2 separate regions of the Homo sapiens genome follow, and region 1 is linked to region 2. The links are contacts of gene promoters, found by promoter capture Hi-C in human tissues and cell types (Jung and others, 2019). All regions are on one chromosome and are shown on one strand. Each heading gives the region's core, a stretch centred on a gene start or on the middle of the fragment in contact. The rest is flanking DNA. Distances are from core to core; before and after follow the strand shown. Region 1 overlaps CNPY2 (canopy FGF signaling regulator 2). Region 2 holds the start of NAB2 (NGFI-A binding protein 2).

The links. The method cuts DNA at HindIII sites, captures the fragments that hold promoters and counts their contacts. A contact is called where the count stands out against the background at its distance.
Region 1: a contact is called between a fragment that was not itself captured here and the fragment with the promoter of NAB2 in region 2, in 1 of the 25 tissues and cell types used here (dorsolateral prefrontal cortex).

The regions. Positions count from the first base shown.
Region 1 is chr12:56,307,018-56,310,914 of GRCh38, reverse strand. It overlaps CNPY2 (canopy FGF signaling regulator 2), which reads left to right. Exons shown (of 6, transcript NM_014255.7): 6 at 320-1,071. The coding sequence ends at 363. Among named protein-coding and RNA genes, the nearest start is that of CNPY2-AS1, 2.4 kb to the left of the region's middle. The HindIII fragment of the contact is 3,127 bases long and covers 1-3,088 here.
Region 2 is chr12:57,086,828-57,091,047 of GRCh38, reverse strand. NAB2 (NGFI-A binding protein 2) reads right to left here and starts at 1,934. Exons shown (of 7, transcript NM_005967.4): 1 at 1,694-1,934. The coding sequence starts at 1,776. It also overlaps a transcript of NEMP1 not described here. RefSeq lists silencers at 1,723-2,342, 3,343-3,402, 3,583-3,732 and an enhancer at 2,613-2,662. The HindIII fragment of the contact is 6,684 bases long and covers 565-4,220 here.

The DNA.
Region 1 (3,897 bases), core at 276-2,775, 780 kb after region 2:
AACCTGACATTCCCTAACTCACCCATACACCCCCATCCCAGAAACCTCTGGTATTAGGTCAAGAGCTGTCTTCCATTTCCCTTGGCTTAGGGACTTGGGGTGTTCCTCCACATTTTCTGTCAGCTTTCAGAATTTGTGTCCCCTTGACCCTGAGATACAGGTGAGAGGACAGTGGGGATGTTTTATCATTTATAAGCATATATTCTGCAGAATGGTGGTTGGTGTGTGTTTGTGTCAGCTTGGTCTGGGAAATTTTCTTGATACTGGCAGATATCAGTATGAGAATGGCATATTCCTTTAAATTGTTTGCCATTTGCAGATCTTTGTGACCATGCCCTGCACATATCGCATGATGAGCTATGAACCACTGGAGCAGCCCACACTGGCTTGATGGATCACCCCCAGGAGGGGAAAATGGTGGCAATGCCTTTTATATATTATGTTTTTACTGAAATTAACTGAAAAAATATGAAACCAAAAGTACAAACTGTGTTGTCTTTTCATGCCTGGAATTGCCCTTACATTAAGCTTGAAGATAAGGAGTTATATAGACAGGAAAGATAATGGAGGAGAAAGAAGAGTTTTGGGATTGATACAGGATAAAGGTAGGAGAGGCCTGAACCTTTAATTCTTCTACCTTCTGAGATTCCACTCCACTCATAAACTAGATAAGCTTTCAGTCAGTGCCCACTCAATACCACGTCTTTAGAGTCTAATTGTGGAGAATAGAGGAACCTCCATGAGGAAGCAGGGGAACATAGTGTATGGTAGTGTAGAATTCTAGAAATCCCTTGTGTTCATGGCTGTTGAAACATAAAGTAAGACAGGGCTTGGTCTTGAAGGAAATAACGGATATGCATTATTCTTCCTTCCCTGCCCATCCAGATGGAGGGACCAGCAAGAACAGAGACAGGAAGGGGAAAATGGATGTGACCAACTCAGCTGAAAAGTAAGGGCTTTATCGGATAGGGACAGACGAGGTAAGGAAGGTTGTTTAATGAGAGGCCTTGCTTGCCAGCCTAAGCTTTTAAATTTGATGCCAGTGGCAACAATAAAGTGTATCTATCACTAGCCATTGTCAATCTGGACTATAAGTCTGTCCACAATTCTGTGTGTAGAGATTCCAGACTGGGGCATAGGGATGAAAACCTAAAGGATACCTTCTTTTGGGAAATTCTTTTTTTCTTTTTTTTTCTGAGATGGAGTCCCGCTCTGTCGCCTAGGCTGGAGTACAGTGGCGCGATCTCGGCTCACTACAAGCTCTGCCTCCCAGGTTCACGCCATTATCCTGACTCAGCCTCCCGAGTAGCTGGGACTACAGGCGCCCGCCACCACACCGGCTAATTTTTTTTTTTTTTTTTTTGTGAGACAGAGTCTCGCTCTATCGCCCAGGCTGGAGTACAGTGGCGCGATCTCGGCTTACTGCAAGCTTCGCCTCCCGGGTTCACACCATTCTCCTGCCTCAGCCTCCCAAGTAGCTGGGACTATAGGCACCCGCCACCACGCCCGGCTAATTTTTTGTATTTTTAGTAGAGACGGGGTTTCACCATGTTAGCCAGGATGGTCTCGATCTCCTGACTTCGTGATCCGCCCGCCTTGGCCTCCCAAACTGCTGGGATTACAGGCGTGAGCCACCGCGCCCGGCCTGCACTGGCTAATTTTTTTGTATTTTTAGTAGAGGCAGGGTTTCACCGTGTTAGCCAGGATGGTCTCGATCTCCTGACCTCATGATCCGCCCGCCTTGGCCTCCCCAAATGCTGGGATTACTGGTGTGAGCCACCGCACCTGGCAGAAAATTCTTAAGCACTCTGAGCTTGAGGTATGGTTGTCTCAGGGTTTCAAATGGAATATCTCCGGTCCCAAGAACACCTCAAGGAGAGAAGACCTGAATAAACATTTCAAAGGTTTTAAAAATTACATCATTTTAGAATCTAAAGGAACCTTAGAGGTCGTCTGGTTCACCTCTGCCCATTTTATTGATGAAGAAGCTGAGGCCCAGAGAAGCCATAGAACTTTATGAAGTTCTGTATTTAATGGCAAAACTGGGTCTATAAGCTAACTTTCCCAAGTGCTGACCTGATCTAATATAGCTATAGAGTACCTTCTATTTTAAGTCTTTTTTCTCTAATAATACCTTGCACTAAGCCTGGCGCATAGAATGCATATATTCCACAAAGCTTTCTTGTACCAAAAATCCCTGTGAAATCTGACAAATTAACTAGAGCACAGAGCAAGCACTCTGATATTTGTTGTCAACTAATATCAGCCTGGTGTTAATTCCATCTTCTCCCATCATCCATAAGAAATGCTGTGTTCGCTCTAGTTTTCCAAACCAACTATTATAAAGCTTATTTTTTCTTCTATGATGCATATAAGTAATAATTACATTTTTTCATGTCCCTGAAAGTATACCCAAGGTGCTGTCCATTTCGTGCTTCGTGCCTAAAAATGCCTTTCTTTTCCATCAGAAAGCTTATCAGAAGTATAAATGAGAGTACTCTTCAAGCCAAATGCGGTGGCTCGTGCCCATAATCCCAACACTTTGGGAGGCCAAGGTGGAAGGATCATGATCACTCGAGTCCAGGAGTTTGAGACCAGCCTAGGCAATATAGTGAGACCCCATTGCTACAAAAAATACAAAAATTAGCCGGCATAATGGTGTGCACCTGTGGTTCCAGCGACTCTGGAGGCCAAGGTGGCAAGATCTCTCGAACCCAGGAGGCTGAGGCTGCACTGAGCTGTGATTGCACTACTGCACTCTAGCCTAGGCAACAGAGTGAGACCCTGTCTCAAATACAATAAAGAGAGTTCTCTTCTGGAAACTTAAAACTGTTTTAATTTAGAAAACAAATTATTCATAGTTTTAAATAAATAAATTTAATGTTAATCAGTAACAAGTTACTTGTGATGCACCTTTCTGGTTTGTCAAAGTACAGCTGTTAAGAACTCTCCAGCTGGAGAGACTTTGTCATTGGTACACAAAGGATATGTCCTATATAGGAAAGGGTGGATGTTACCTTCTAGGCTTGATTAAGGATACACTTTGTGGGGTTTTTTTGTTTTTTGTTTTTTTTTTCCTGAGGGAGAGTCTCGCTCTGTCGCCCAGGCTGAAGTGCAGTGGTGCAATCTCGGCTTACTGCAACCTCCACCTCCTGGTTCAAGTGATTTTCCTGACTCAGCCTCCCAAGTAGCTGGGATTACAAGCATGTGCCATCATGCCCAGCTAATTTTTGAGTTTTTTGTAGAGACAGTGTTTCACCATGTTGGCCAGGCTGGTCTCAAACTCCTGGCTTCAAGTAACCCGCCTGCCTCAGCCTCCCAAAGTGTTGGGATTACAGGCGTGAGCCACCGTGCCCAGCAGGAAGATACACTTTGTAAACCTCTTATTTTTTTTATTATTATCATTATTATTATTACTATCTTAGCGAGACAGGGGTCTTGCTCTGTTGCCCAGGCTGGAGTGAAATGGCATGATCATAACTCATTGCAGCCTCTAACTCCTGGCTTCAAGCAATCCTCCTGCCTTGGCCTCCTGAGTTTCTAGGATTACAGGCAAGCACCACCATGCCTGGCTTTGCACATGTTTTAATTCATATCACAAGGAATGCATGAATTTATCTGAACCCTCTGGAGGTTCATTATAATAAATTATAGCCCAGTATTTGGTAGAGCATATGCTCTTAACCTTGTAAATCTGATCAAGCTTCAGATGCCTTCTAACTTAGTTTATCAGTAAAATGTTAGAACTTAACAAACATTTCCGAAGACAGTGTTAAATGAGGTACAGATATAACAGGAAAGTTTATTATGTGAAAATTTAGTCCTTTAGAAATACGTTTTAGGGCTGGGCCCAGTGGATCATGCCTGTAATCCCAGCACTTGGGGATGCCGAGGTGG
Region 2 (4,220 bases), core at 685-3,184:
CCCTCTTTCCTGCCTGCTTTTCTTCCCCTCCCTCATTTGGATGCTATCCTGCCCAGTGCCCAGGTCTGAGTACAGACTCTCAGAATCAGGCACTGCTCAGAGGCATGGACAAGCCAGTGCCGTCCTAGACTGGCCCGAAGCCCCAAAAGTCAGTGGCCTGTGTCTGTAGGAGTCGAAGCGTCTTACAACCTTATCTTCAGCTTTTATCTTTTTGGTCTGGGGCAAGAAGAACTTGAGCGCTGAGGCTGACCAGCACCGACCTGGGATGGCTGGACCTCCCTCTCCCCCAAAACACAATCCTCACCTTCCCCTCTAAACACTCAGCAGTCTCAACACTGAAGTGAAGTCACCCATACTAAAGTGAATGTAGGAGCCCAGTCTCCCCCACAGTGGACGCTGCTGGCCAGCTTCATTCCCTGTGAAGGGGCCACAGCCCCAGGTGGCTAAAAGGGAGGGTGTGGCACCTTCCCTGGCTTTCCCACTCAGTGAGCCAGGTGGTGCCTTACTCTTCTCCGCTCAGCTTTTCCCAGGGGTTAAGCATTTATTTATTTATTTATTTATTTATTTATTTGAGACGGAGTCTCGCTCTGTCACCCAGGCTGGAGTGCAGTGGCGCTGTCACTGCAACCTCCGCCTCCCGGGTTCAAGCGATTCTCCTGCCTCAGCCTCCTGAGTAGCTGAGATTACAGGCGCCCGCCACCATGCCCGGCTAATTTTTGTATTTTTAGTAGAAACGGGGTTTCACCATGTTGGTCAGGCTGGGCTCGAATTCCTGACCTCGTGATCCACCCGCCTCAGCCTCCCAAAGTGCTGGGATTACAGGCCTGAGCCACCGGGCCCGCCCGGCCTGGTTAAGCATTCTTAACGCACGCTTCCTCTCTCCCCTCAGAACCTCTCCACCCTTCCAGGCTGCCCAGTGCTCCTCAGTGGCCCCTCTCCTAGCAGTGACACTCCCCACTTCCTCGGTCAGCCTTTTCCTTCAGCTCAGGGGCCGTGGCAGGGGGAGGGGCGCAATTGTTCTGCTCCGGGGCCGTTCCGCCCACACACACTCCCACAGTGGTAGCGTCTGTAGGCGAAAACCGCCCAGGGGCTCCCGCCTACTCTCCTCTCCCATATTTTCCACCCGCATCTTCAAGTGGAGTGGGGGAGCGGCTCAAGGCCTCTTGATGAAGGGGCTGCACACTGAAACTCCCCTCCCCGCTCTGTGAATAAAGGGACAGATATGGGAAGGAACGCCTAAGGCCTCCCTGCCTCCCTCGTCACCCCCCCTTTCCCCCGCTGATGCTCCTTTAACTCAAAGGCACCGGGGGCCCGCGCGCTCCGTGCCAACGAGGGACTGAGGCAACTGAGCGTCCCCCCACCTTCCGCACTGATGCCAGCTCGAGCTCCAGGGCATCCCCTGGTGCTTGGAGGCTCCCACATTCTTTGCAGGGGGCTCTTAGGCCAGATGGAGCCCACAGAGTAAACCAGGAATGGAGATTTGGGTACTACTCTTTCATATCCAGCTTCATCAGATGCTTGCCTGCTCCCAGGGCCCCCTAATTCGAAGACGCACCCCCTTTTCCATCAGTCTCCACCCCCCACCCCCGTCCTGCTTCCCCACGTCCTCCCCTCGACCTCCGCCCTCTGGACCCCATTCCCAAGTCCAGCTCCACCCATCTCCACTCCCCGCTGCCTCCCTTTGCCCACTAACTTGAGTCTGGGCTGCAGGGTCCGGCGGGCGCTGTCCCCTCCGCCCGGCGGCTGCTCGGCTGTGGGGGAAGGCGCTCTGTGCATGGACGGCCGGAGATCACCCGGGCTGCCCTTCTCGGTGCCCGGCGCTCGGCGCCTGCTGCGTGCTGCCCTCTTCCCCGCGCACGATGCCGTGTCCACCGCTGTCCAGGCTCTGTCCCTCCCTCCACGTCTTCTCTCTCCGAGCCTCCGCGCCTCTGTCTGTGCCTCTGCCCCCCCACCCTCCCCGGCTGCGCTTGCCGCCTCTCCGCGCCTCCGCCCCCGCAGGACGCACAGGGAGCGAGGCCCGGAGCTGCGCTGGCTGCCGGGCTGGCGGGCGGAGGGCGTGGGCAGAGCCGGGGGCGGGGGTGGGGGCGGGGGCCGGGGAGGCGGGCGCTGGGGCCTCTCGGCCGCGGAGACGCCGCGGCTTAGAGACTGGGAGAGGCGGAGACGGGGGGGGAGGGGGTGTGGAGCAGGAGGCGGGGGCGGGGATTCAGAGCCGGGGCGCCGAATTGGGGACCGAGGTGACCGAGGCCCGGCTGTGCAGGGCGGGCTTGGGGACCCAGCGGGCGGGGCGAGGTCGTTCTGTGCCGCCCACGCCGGATGCACAGCCGGCCCTCTTGGCGCCCACGTACCCACGTGAGCGCCCCGCCGGCGACATTCCTTCTCTCCCCCACCCCTCCGAGCTGAGAGAGGAGTTTCACAACCACGCACAAGTACACAAAGACACAGAAGCGCACGGACGTGCACACGCGCCTAAACAACTACGGGGACGCCCGTTGCCCATACTCAGGCCTTGTGGTGCTGGACGTGTGAATGTTAGCAGTGAGCCGGGAAAAGTTAGCGAAGGCTGGGCTGTGCGGCTTCTCCTGTGCGTGCATCTGACTCCCGTATAGTGTGCACTTAAGGCGGGCCTGAGAGCGTGGGGCTCTGCAGGGATCTCCTAGATATCCCCGCGCCCCTCCTCAGCCCCAATGGAATAATCTGAGGGGGTCGCTCTCAGAAACCCAGGCCTCCATGCTAGCCTGGAAAGTTTGGGAAACAGGAATGGGAGGGTTATGCTGCACGCCACCACTTAGGTGCGCGTGTTGATTAGACGCGTCGGCTTTTGTCAGCGCGTAGGTCAGGCAGGGATTCCTCCACTTGTCCTCTGTTTGCTGAGGATGAGGCCCTGCCTGGGAATTTTGTGTGACAAAGACGATACCCTTCCTGGGGCCGTCTATTAGGGACCTCGCCCGAGAGTCTAGTGGAAGATGAGTAAGAGGTCGGGAGCCTACGACGTGACTTCCTGCGGCGGAGCTGGAAGGAGGAGCGCCTTGAAGGAGCTTAGCCCCCGCCTCTGCAACCCACCACCGTCTCCCCCTTTGGTTTCTCCTAGCCCCATCTGGTTCGCATTGCACTCCCGCCCACGGCTGGGAGGGCTGTTGGGGGAGGCGGGGGCTCTAAGGGCCCGGCCCATAGACTCTAAGCCCCAGGGAAAGGAGGGGGGGTGGGGGCCGGGGAAAGCGAGCGGACTGGCCACAGGTGAGGTTTCCCCTAGTCCGGAATCTCAGCCCCGCCCCGCCTCTCTGTCCGCACTTCTGAGGGGCTGGGGTGGGGCATGGCGGGGCGTGGAGGCCGTGGACCGGGGCTGGTTTTACAATGTGGCCTAGCGAGGAGACCTTTCCGCCTTGTGGGGTCCGGGGAGAAGGAGCGCGTTGTTGGTGGGAGGATTTCAGTTGCTCAGGTCCTCTTCTCCAACCTATTAAGCGCCAAACACAGTGGGGGTGGTGGGAACGAGCAGAGTCCCGTCTCCCAGTCCCCCGCCCCGCAACTGGAGGGTGCGGCTAGACGGGCTCCCCTGGGGACGCTCCCGACCCCGTACGGGGTGTGGGCGACCCCTCCCCCCCCACCTCAGGTTATTTTGGATCCCGGGCTGCCAGCCGCTGGCCCCGGGTTTCCACGTGCCCCCTCCCTCCCCCAGCCCACGCTCCCCGTGACGCACATCCTCCGCCCACGCAGCCTCTGCTCGAGGCGCCCCCCTCCCTCCCACCCCGGCCCCCTTGGGGCGGCGCTGAGCCTTAGGATCTGGAGGGAGACGCCCGCCCAAGGAGGAGGCGGAGTAGGGCGTGAGCAAGTGAGCGGCAACCTACTGGGCGCGGGGCGCCCGGGTCCCGGTCCTGATCCGGGAAAGAGGGGGAGGGAGGAGCCGATTTTGAGCTCTCCGCTCCCGGGTCCTGGGAGAGGGGGTGCTCGGCCAGAGAGGGACGAGGGAAGAGAAATTCCGCAGAAGGGGCCTGCCCACTCCCCTAGGGGAGCCAGCGGGGGTCCGGGTGCGAACCCGTGTGTGAGAGTGAAACTACCGGGTGTTTGTGTCTTTGTGCCCTTGTTTCTCAAGATTGTCGTGAGATTCGGATGAGAGAATGTACGGGAAAACTCTCTAAATTGTAGAATGCTAAGCATATTTAAGACGCTACTGCCAGTTTGTGTCTCTGTACCCGAGATTATGTATTTATATGTTTCTTTATATC